Linked DNA regions of Homo sapiens: all the other regions are linked to region 2. Evidence: promoter capture Hi-C in human tissues and cell types (Jung and others, 2019). All regions are on one chromosome and are shown on one strand. The core of a region is centred on a gene start or on the middle of the fragment in contact, and the rest is flanking DNA. Distances in the headings are between cores, read along the strand shown.

Region 1 (2,700 bases), core at 99-2,598, 270 kb after region 2:
CAGCCAAGCTTGTACCCACGCTGTGCCACTCAGAAGGAAGCGAAAACTCAGCACTGCACATGGCCGAGCAGACCAAAAGCGACTGCGAGGGAAGACGTTCAGCCCAGAAGTGGAAGTGAGCTGCTGCTAAGGCTTTCGGGGAACGTAGTCCCTAGCTGTGCCACATGTCCCTGCGTTCAGGAGGTGCTCTCTTGACATGTGTGTGCAACACACCTGGCGGAACTACACATCTCAACCTCAGCTCATAAAATGTATGATGATGCCAGTGGGCTTCCTTTGGACACCTCTTTAAAAGGCACACCCAGATCTTCCTATTATTAATTGTAAACTGGTGGTGTAAACTTTTCTAACCTGTGTGATGTTACCCTTAAAATGCCTTCCCACTCCCCAACACTGTCAAATCCCATGTTAGGATCCCTTAACCTGAGCAAATACAATTTTCTGCTTACTTTCAGTTATTGAAACTTAGTCTGACCATATATATATAGAGTTTTGTTTTGCTTTTAGAGACAGGTCTTGCTGTGTCACCCAGGCTGGGGTGCAATGGCATAATCATGGCTCACTGTAGCCTGGACCTGCTGGCCTCAAGCCTCCTGAAGTTCTGGGATTTTAAGTGTGCCACTGCACCTGGCGATGAAGCCTGTGGCCTGCCCTGATGGCACCCCTGGGTCCAGCTTCATCCCAGCTCTCTGTGTCGATTCACAGCAGGGCAGCCTAGTTTCCCTTGGGCCTCACGCAATCCTTGCCTCTAACCAGTCTCAAGGTGAGTTTGGCAGAGCAGCCATTGACACAGCCTTATGGCTCCTGCCCACTTGTCCTCCTTCCCAGGAGCTCCAGGTACAGGGTGAACATACATCTGGGTTTTAGAGCACAATCTGAGCTTCCCATCTGATTAGCTTCCCCTTCATTCTCAGGGTCCCTGTTTGGACAATCAATTATAAGGACACCCTATCCAGGAACCACTGAAATCCTGACTTGTGATCTCTGATGTCAAGGAAAACAGATGGAGTGGTCCTATCCTTTCCTTCCCAGGGATAACACAAATGCAGACCCTTAGAGATCTCCACTCTGCTGCTAGGGACTAATCCAGCAGCAGCCCCCTCCCTTCTGAAATCTCCAGACAGTTGGGGGCACCCCTCTCTGTTCGATCCTTTACCACCTTCCACCTCCACACTACAGGGAACACATTTTAAGGAACAAACATTAAGTTCTCCCAAGAACTCCAGGTGACAGCTGTGAAGTGGGCCTGTGGTTTTGCTGGAGATGGAGATGCCAAGCTCCCATGCTTTCAGATCTCCCAATATCTCATTCTTGGTGCCCAAGTCCCCCACCCCTGTAGGGGCAGGGTAGGGGCTTCATCCCAGGAGCATGAGGCCCATCTCCTCTGGATCAGAACCTCCTTACATGGTTTTTATATCTATAGGGGCCAAGGATCAAGTGGCTCTGTGACTCTCACATCTAGTGAGTCCTATGGGACCATGTGTCCAGTCTCTGTGACACCCTTTAGAAAGCAGAGGAATGTGACATTTTGTTTTCACCTTAGGAGCTTTATCAGCAACTCCAAGCCAACAGAAAAGTCCCTGTCAAGATCCTGTGAGAACTCTAACTTTGGAATTGCAAATTGCCAGTTTTTTAATGCAGACAGTAAAATAAAAGCCCCATTAATTACTACAATAATACTTCCTGTTCACAGCTCAATAAAATACCATTATAATTCAGGTCCAGATTTCTTGACTCCTTTATCCATTAAAATGTGTTTGTCTTTTAGTGTGTCTGCTACCTTTCCAAATGGAAAAAAAAAAAGTGTTTGTCAGCTGGTCATGGTGGCATGCACCTGTAGTCCTAGCTGCTTGGGCGACTAAGGACAGAGGATCACTTGAGCCCAGGAGTTTGAGGCTTCAGTGAGCTATGATCACACCACTGCATCAGAGACCCCACCTCAAAAAAAAAGTGTTTGTTAAAAAAGTATGTTTTTCCAAAATGACCAGGGTTTTACTAAAAGTTATTAGCAAAAATTAGTAATATCCTTCCACCAACTCTTGCAAATAGTCACTCATGCTCCTCATCTGCAGGAAGCCCTCTGCTCCTCTGCCCTCCCTTTTTAATTGGTGCCTCAAAAGGCATTTCTGGCAAGTGGCAACGCTCTGCCTGATTCTGACAGTGCCAAGACTTTTTCTTTTAACAATTTTTTATTATTTCCTAAAAATTATTTATTTTTGTTGAGATGAGGTCTCACTATGTTGCTTAGGCTGGTCTCGACTCCTGGCCTCAAGTGATCCTCCCACCTTGGCCTCCCAAAGTGCTGGGATTACAGGTGTGAGCCGCCGTGCTGGGTCCCTCCCTTCTTTCTTAGGCTTGGATCAGCTTCTCACTCTGAGGAGCATCAGTGCTCATTATTCCTTCCCCCAAATCCTTCAGGTGTGCTGGTGTACAAGTTATCCAGGCTTATGCCCTGAGGGAAACCAAGCAGGTGGTTGTGTGGGAGGAGGAATCAGATAAGAAAAAGGAGGCCAACTTTAACTGTAAATGAGTTTAAACATTCACAGAGGCACATACAACGAATACCTATGCACCACTGTGGGGACAAAAGTTTTAAATTTTATTATTTACTATTATTATTTTTTGCCTTTCAAATGAGTTTAATAAAGACTAGTTTGGAAAATAGCGATTTTAAATTTTAATCCACCATGTGACTTCTGA
Region 2 (2,700 bases), core at 39-2,538:
TTGGGCAATTTCCAATGTACCTGAACCTTGGTCCTTCATCCGTAAAAATTGAATACAAGTAGTACCGATCCCAGGGGATCGTAATGAGGATTAAATGATGTGTATGTCAACAGCCTACTATGGGGACTGATACTTAGTAGGCACTCATTTACTAATATTAGTAACTTGTGTTCACTTCCCGCTGGTGTGGTGTAATGTTTGCAGAAGTTTTTGCAGTTTTAAGTATAAAATCTGAGACTGGGAGGTGATCCCCTTTGGCCTTTCATGTGCCCTTGCTAATTCTACAGATCCCTTCCCATCCCTTCCCCCAAATATACACCCCAGTGATAAGCAGAGCTCTATCTTCCACGTCCTTTCCAAAAGCTCCAGATAACATCAGAGCCCCTATACTGAACAATTTGTCTGATTCTGAGAAGGGGGTTCAGTAGATCTCGGGCCTAGGTCCGTGTTCTGCCCCTAATTTGACCACGTGATCTTGGACAGGTTACTTAATTTCTTCAGTGAGCCTTGGGTGTCCTCAGTCGCAAAAGGAGTAGCAGCTTCAACCACTCCCAATATCCCTTCAGATTTTAGACTGGGAAGAAACTGTCCACGCACCACAAAGATTAAAAGCGCCTGGTAACCCCTAAATACTCTCCCCAAACCCATTTCAAACGTCACTGCTTCCGATGTCTGGACTTCTTGGCATTTCGTACAAATCTCAAGGGTCCATGCTGGCCCCTGCGCCCTCACGCGGCTAGGACCTCACATTTCTACGTCGCGGGCGCCCTACCCTCTCTGGAGCTGGGTCCATATCCCCCTCCCAAGAGCGCTGCAGTAAGCACTGAATGAAATAACGGCCCCGCCTGACAGAGCCCAGCACAAGGCAAATGCTCAAGAGATGTTGGCTAATATCAGCAGTCAACGGATCCCGCGCCCTCCTTGAGCCTCAGTTTCCTCAAGAACGTAATGAGGACGGGCATAGACAATGCTCAAAGCCCCCAGCAGCGGGCGGAGGGTCCCGAGGCGGGCCTAAGGGGCGCACGCTGCGGAAGGCAGGGCAGCCCCGGAAGCCGGGCGGCCCTGAGAGTCCCGGGTCCAGCCCGGCGCGGAGATGCGTCCTCTCACCTCCCGGGCTCAGCAGCAGCTTCAATGCCTCCAAAATCCGATCCAGACCGCATGTCTCCTGAGCCCCGCTGCCCACGGCCTGTCGGGCCGCCATGACTGGAGTGTAACACCACGCTCGCGACCCGCTCAGGCGCCTCGGCAGGGCGCCGCCGCCGCCATGTTAAGTGTGGCAGAAGGCTCTGGGCACACTATGGGGCGGGGCCAAATCGATCGGGAACGCCCCCTTCACATTTTTTTTCCGTCCCGGCTTAGTCCGGGGGGTAAGAGGGAACCCAAAAATGGCTAATCTGCCCACGCGCACAATTTCAGAAGCTCAATATGATTAACCGCTATGTAAAGAAGGAAGAGAGAAGTAATGTATCATTAAAGCTATATTTCAATATGAAAATACTCAGGTACTCAACACTGGCAGACATAATGAAGCAGACAGATGCTTCCATCTGCTTACAGTGAAGTATGGATAAGAAAAACAATATTCAGGCTGGGCGCGGTGGCTCACACCTGTAATCGCAGCACTCTGGGAGGCCGAGGCGGGCAGATCACAAGGTCAGGAGTTTGAGACCAACCTGTCCGATATGGTGAAACCCCGTCTCTACTAAACATACAAAAATTAGCCAGGCGTGGTGGCGGGCGCCTGTAGTCCCAGCTACCCGGGAGGCTGAGGCAGGAGAATCGCTCGAAGCTGGGAGGTCGAGGTTGCAGTGAGCCGAGATCACACCACTGCACTCCAGCCTGGGCGACAGAGCGAGACTCCATCTCAAAACAAACAAACAAACAAAACCTAAGTACAGACGTACACACGCATATATATCCATCGTGAATGTAAAGCTACAAATGTTGTTATGGGTAATATGATTTTTTTTTTCAGTGAACTTAGTAAAGTTCCCAGTAAAAGTTCGATCTGTGTTCTGTTTTCATGGTTGATGCATTCCTCGAAAATTCAGGGTCTATCAAAACCATGCCCTCCGCCAAACTGTTTTTATATGTAAAACAGAATGGATTTGAGATTCAGATTATCGGAAACAGGTTTTCACCTACATAAATCCTGGTGGGACGTTGAAAAACCATGTTGTCTGAAAGTCATGCCGCAGACACAGGACAATGTTTTTGAGGGCAGGACCTTTATTTTTATTTTATTTTTTGAGATGGGGTCTCGCTCTGTCGCCTAGGCTGGAGTTCAGTGGCGTGATCTCGGCTCACTGCAACCTCTGCCTCCCAGGCTGAAACAATTATCTGGCCTCAGCCCCCCGAGTAGCTGGGATTACTGGAGTGCCCCAGCATGCCCGGCTAATTTTTGTATTTTTTGTGGAGACAAGGTTTCGCCCTCTTGGCTAGGCTGGTCTTGAGCTCCTCACCTCAAGTGACCTGCCCACCTGGGCCTCCCAAAGTGCTGGGATTACAGGCGTGAGCCACTGCGCCCGGCCCAAAGGACAAACTTCTTAATGGTCCGGTCCTTGGGCGAGAATAAGCTGCGCATAGCTATTACCCTTTTTGGCATGACTCTTGTTTCTTCTTTTCTTTGTCATTTTGGAATGCAGGGCCTGAGAGGGAAAAACGCTAAAAATTTTTTTTTAGAGATGGAGTCTCTATGTT
Region 3 (2,700 bases), core at 53-2,552, 320 kb before region 2:
GTTAAGACCAGTTCCTCAAGCCTGCAGACAGCGTTTTAGTAGCTTTAGCGAAGGGGCACAGAGGTCAAAACCTCAGCCTGTACCTCCTTTAATGAAACCAGGTTATTCAGATACCCCAGAGTTCAAAGTTGAAAGCAAGTTAGCCAAATCAATGATACTTCCGGATGAGGGTCACCTTCCGAATACTGGCCTAATCACTTTTCTGTGTAAGATTTATGTGCTTACTCGCAAAGTAGACAAATAGTCAAATCAGCAAAAGCCAGTATACAAAGGCCAGCCCCTTCCCCGAGAGCCTCCCGAAGAACTGTGGGAACACAAACCAGGGAATCTGTAAAACAAAAGCCCCTCTCCTCCAAGAAATGTACTAGCTACCTGTATTCTGATTTACTAGCTACCTTTATTCTGAGTCTCTGTCCTCTTACCTTATTGTACTTGTTGCTTTTAGAACTTTAAGATTCAGAAGAAGATTTGGGAGGTAGCAGTGAAGAACTCACCAATGACTTGTCAATGATGCAGAACATGTAGGCATCATGGAGAAGGATGTGCATCGGTCTCTTGGGATGAAAACTGATGTGTGTGATAGGAGTATCCCTTTGGAGCCAAAGGTGGTGAAAGCCCTGCTTCTGGACAGTCCGGCTCCAATCTGTATACTGTTTGTCTGGGATGCTGTACTCAAATACCTGAGGGAGGACATGACATAGAGAAATGCAGGCTGGTACTCAGAAAGACCAGAAGGGCATTCTCATCCCTAACCAGAAAGTATCTATACAAAGCTTCAACTGTATTATATTCATTCTATGCTCTCCCAACACTTTTTTTTTTTTTTGAGATGGAGTCTCACTCTGCCACACAGGCTGGAGTGTAGTGGCGTGATCTCCGCTCACTGCAAGCTCCGCCTCCCCGGTTCAAGCCGTTCTCCTGCCTCAGCCTCCCAAATAGCTGGGACTATAGGCGCCCACGAGTACGCCCGGCTAATTTTTTGTATTTTTAGTAGAGATGGGGTTTCACTGTGTTAGCCAGGATGGTCTTGATCTCCTGACCTCGTGATCTGCCCGCCTCAGCCTCCCAAAGTGCTGGGATTACAGGCGTGAGCCACCGCGCCCTGCCCATCTTTTCAGAGCTATTTTATGCACATAATACATAGCGTTCTGTATCTTGCTTTTGTTGCTCAGTGTTATATCACGGAGACTGACCCACATTAATACACATATATATCGGTCATGCCCATTCTGAAACACAGAATAGTCCACTCATTTTGTCCATGTATCATGATTTACTTATCCACTCTGCTTAATGGACATTAGCTTGTTTCATATCTTTGTCTACTACAAACAAAGCTGTCTCTGTATAAATGTCTTTTTGCACAGCTAGAAGCATATATATCTATATACAGATATATATATACATATATATATATATATATATATATATATAAAGAATGATTAGAACTGAAATTTCTAAGTCAAAGACCATGTGGACTTTAAAATTTTTAAGGTATTGCCAACATGTCCTCCAAAAGGGTTAGGATAATTTACACAATGTGTGAGAGTACTGTTTCCCTATACCTTCAGAACACTGTATATTATCAAGTCTTTGATCTTTGCTAATCTAACAGATATAAAAAACTTCCCATCAGTTTTACTTTCAGAAGCACTTAAGGGACTAAGTGCCAGTAAAAGGTGTCATGGGGGAAATTATCATTATGTGTGACAAAGGCAAAGATGTGTGGCTTCACTACTCTTTCAGTCTTTGGTCAAGGACTCAAATCTATAAAACTGAGAGATTTCACTTTTTGGACAGTGTGTGTGTGCATGTGTGAGTGTAAAAACTGACCATCAGCCGGGCGCGGTGGCTCAAGCCTGTAATCCCAGCACTTTGGGAGGCCGAGGCGGGCGGATCACAAGGTCAGGAGATCGAGACCATCCTGGCTAACATGGTGAAACTCCATCTCTACTAAAAATACAAAAAATTAGCCGGGCATGGTGGCGGGCGCCTGTAGTCCAGCTACTCGGGAGGCTGAGGCAGGAGGATGACATGAACCCGGAAGGCGGAGCTTGCAGTGATCGGAGATCGCACCACTGCACTCCAGCCTGGGCGACAGAGCGAGACTCTGTCTCAAAAAAAAAAAAAAAAAAACAAACTGACCATCAAAGCAGTAAGCATCATTTGCCTAGCACTCTACTTAAATGTGCTTCCTGGATTACATTTAATCTTCCCAACAGCTCAGTGAGGTAGATATTAACATCTCCAATTTTACAGATGAATTATTGATAACTTCCTAATATAATTATTGATAACTTCCTAATATATTCCGCAGCCCAGGTTTTTTTTTTTTTAAAGATCTCCTTATAATCACAATCTCCTTACAAATTGGTATAGAAAAAAGTAGATTAGGTTCTAATTTTGGCTGAGATTAGGTACCTGATCTTATTAGGGCTTGATTTCCTCATCGGCAAGCGTAAAGGTGAATGATACAATCTTTTAGTCACTTTCAACTCTCAAAATCTTATTCCATCCCATATCCAGTTTAATACCCAAGCCCATGTCATCTCTCCTCTAAAACAATCAGGAAAATGAGTACTTCAAAATTCCTCCTCCCTCTTGTGATTCTTTACTCTAGAATCTTAGTGCTTCTCCATTTAAATTGCATCCCATCAAACCAATGCATACTGCTGGCCTATGATGAGCCCAGACCGGCAA

What was found. Contacts are between HindIII fragments. The study calls those that stand out against the background at their distance.
Region 1: a fragment that was not itself captured here is called in contact with the fragment with the promoter of TANGO6 in region 2 in 1 of the 25 tissues and cell types used here (pancreas).
Region 3: a fragment that was not itself captured here is called in contact with the fragment with the promoter of TANGO6 in region 2 in 1 of the 25 tissues and cell types used here (IMR-90 fibroblasts).

What each region holds. Positions count from the first base shown.
Region 1 is chr16:68,571,283-68,573,982 of GRCh38, reverse strand. It overlaps a transcript of ZFP90 not described here. Among named protein-coding and RNA genes, the nearest start is that of ZFP90, 33 kb to the right of the region's middle. The HindIII fragment of the contact is 5,111 bases long and covers 1-2,700 here.
Region 2 is chr16:68,842,119-68,844,818 of GRCh38, reverse strand. It overlaps TANGO6 (transport and golgi organization 6 homolog), which reads right to left and starts at 1,288. Exons shown (of 18, transcript NM_024562.2): 1 at 1,108-1,288. The coding sequence starts at 1,201. RefSeq lists an enhancer at 1,048-1,317. The HindIII fragment of the contact is 20,381 bases long and covers 1-2,700 here.
Region 3 is chr16:69,163,321-69,166,020 of GRCh38, reverse strand. It overlaps UTP4 (UTP4 small subunit processome component), which reads right to left. Exons shown (of 17, transcript NM_032830.3): 15 at 495-680. Among named protein-coding and RNA genes, the nearest start is that of SNTB2, 22 kb to the left of the region's middle. The HindIII fragment of the contact is 4,452 bases long and covers 1-2,700 here.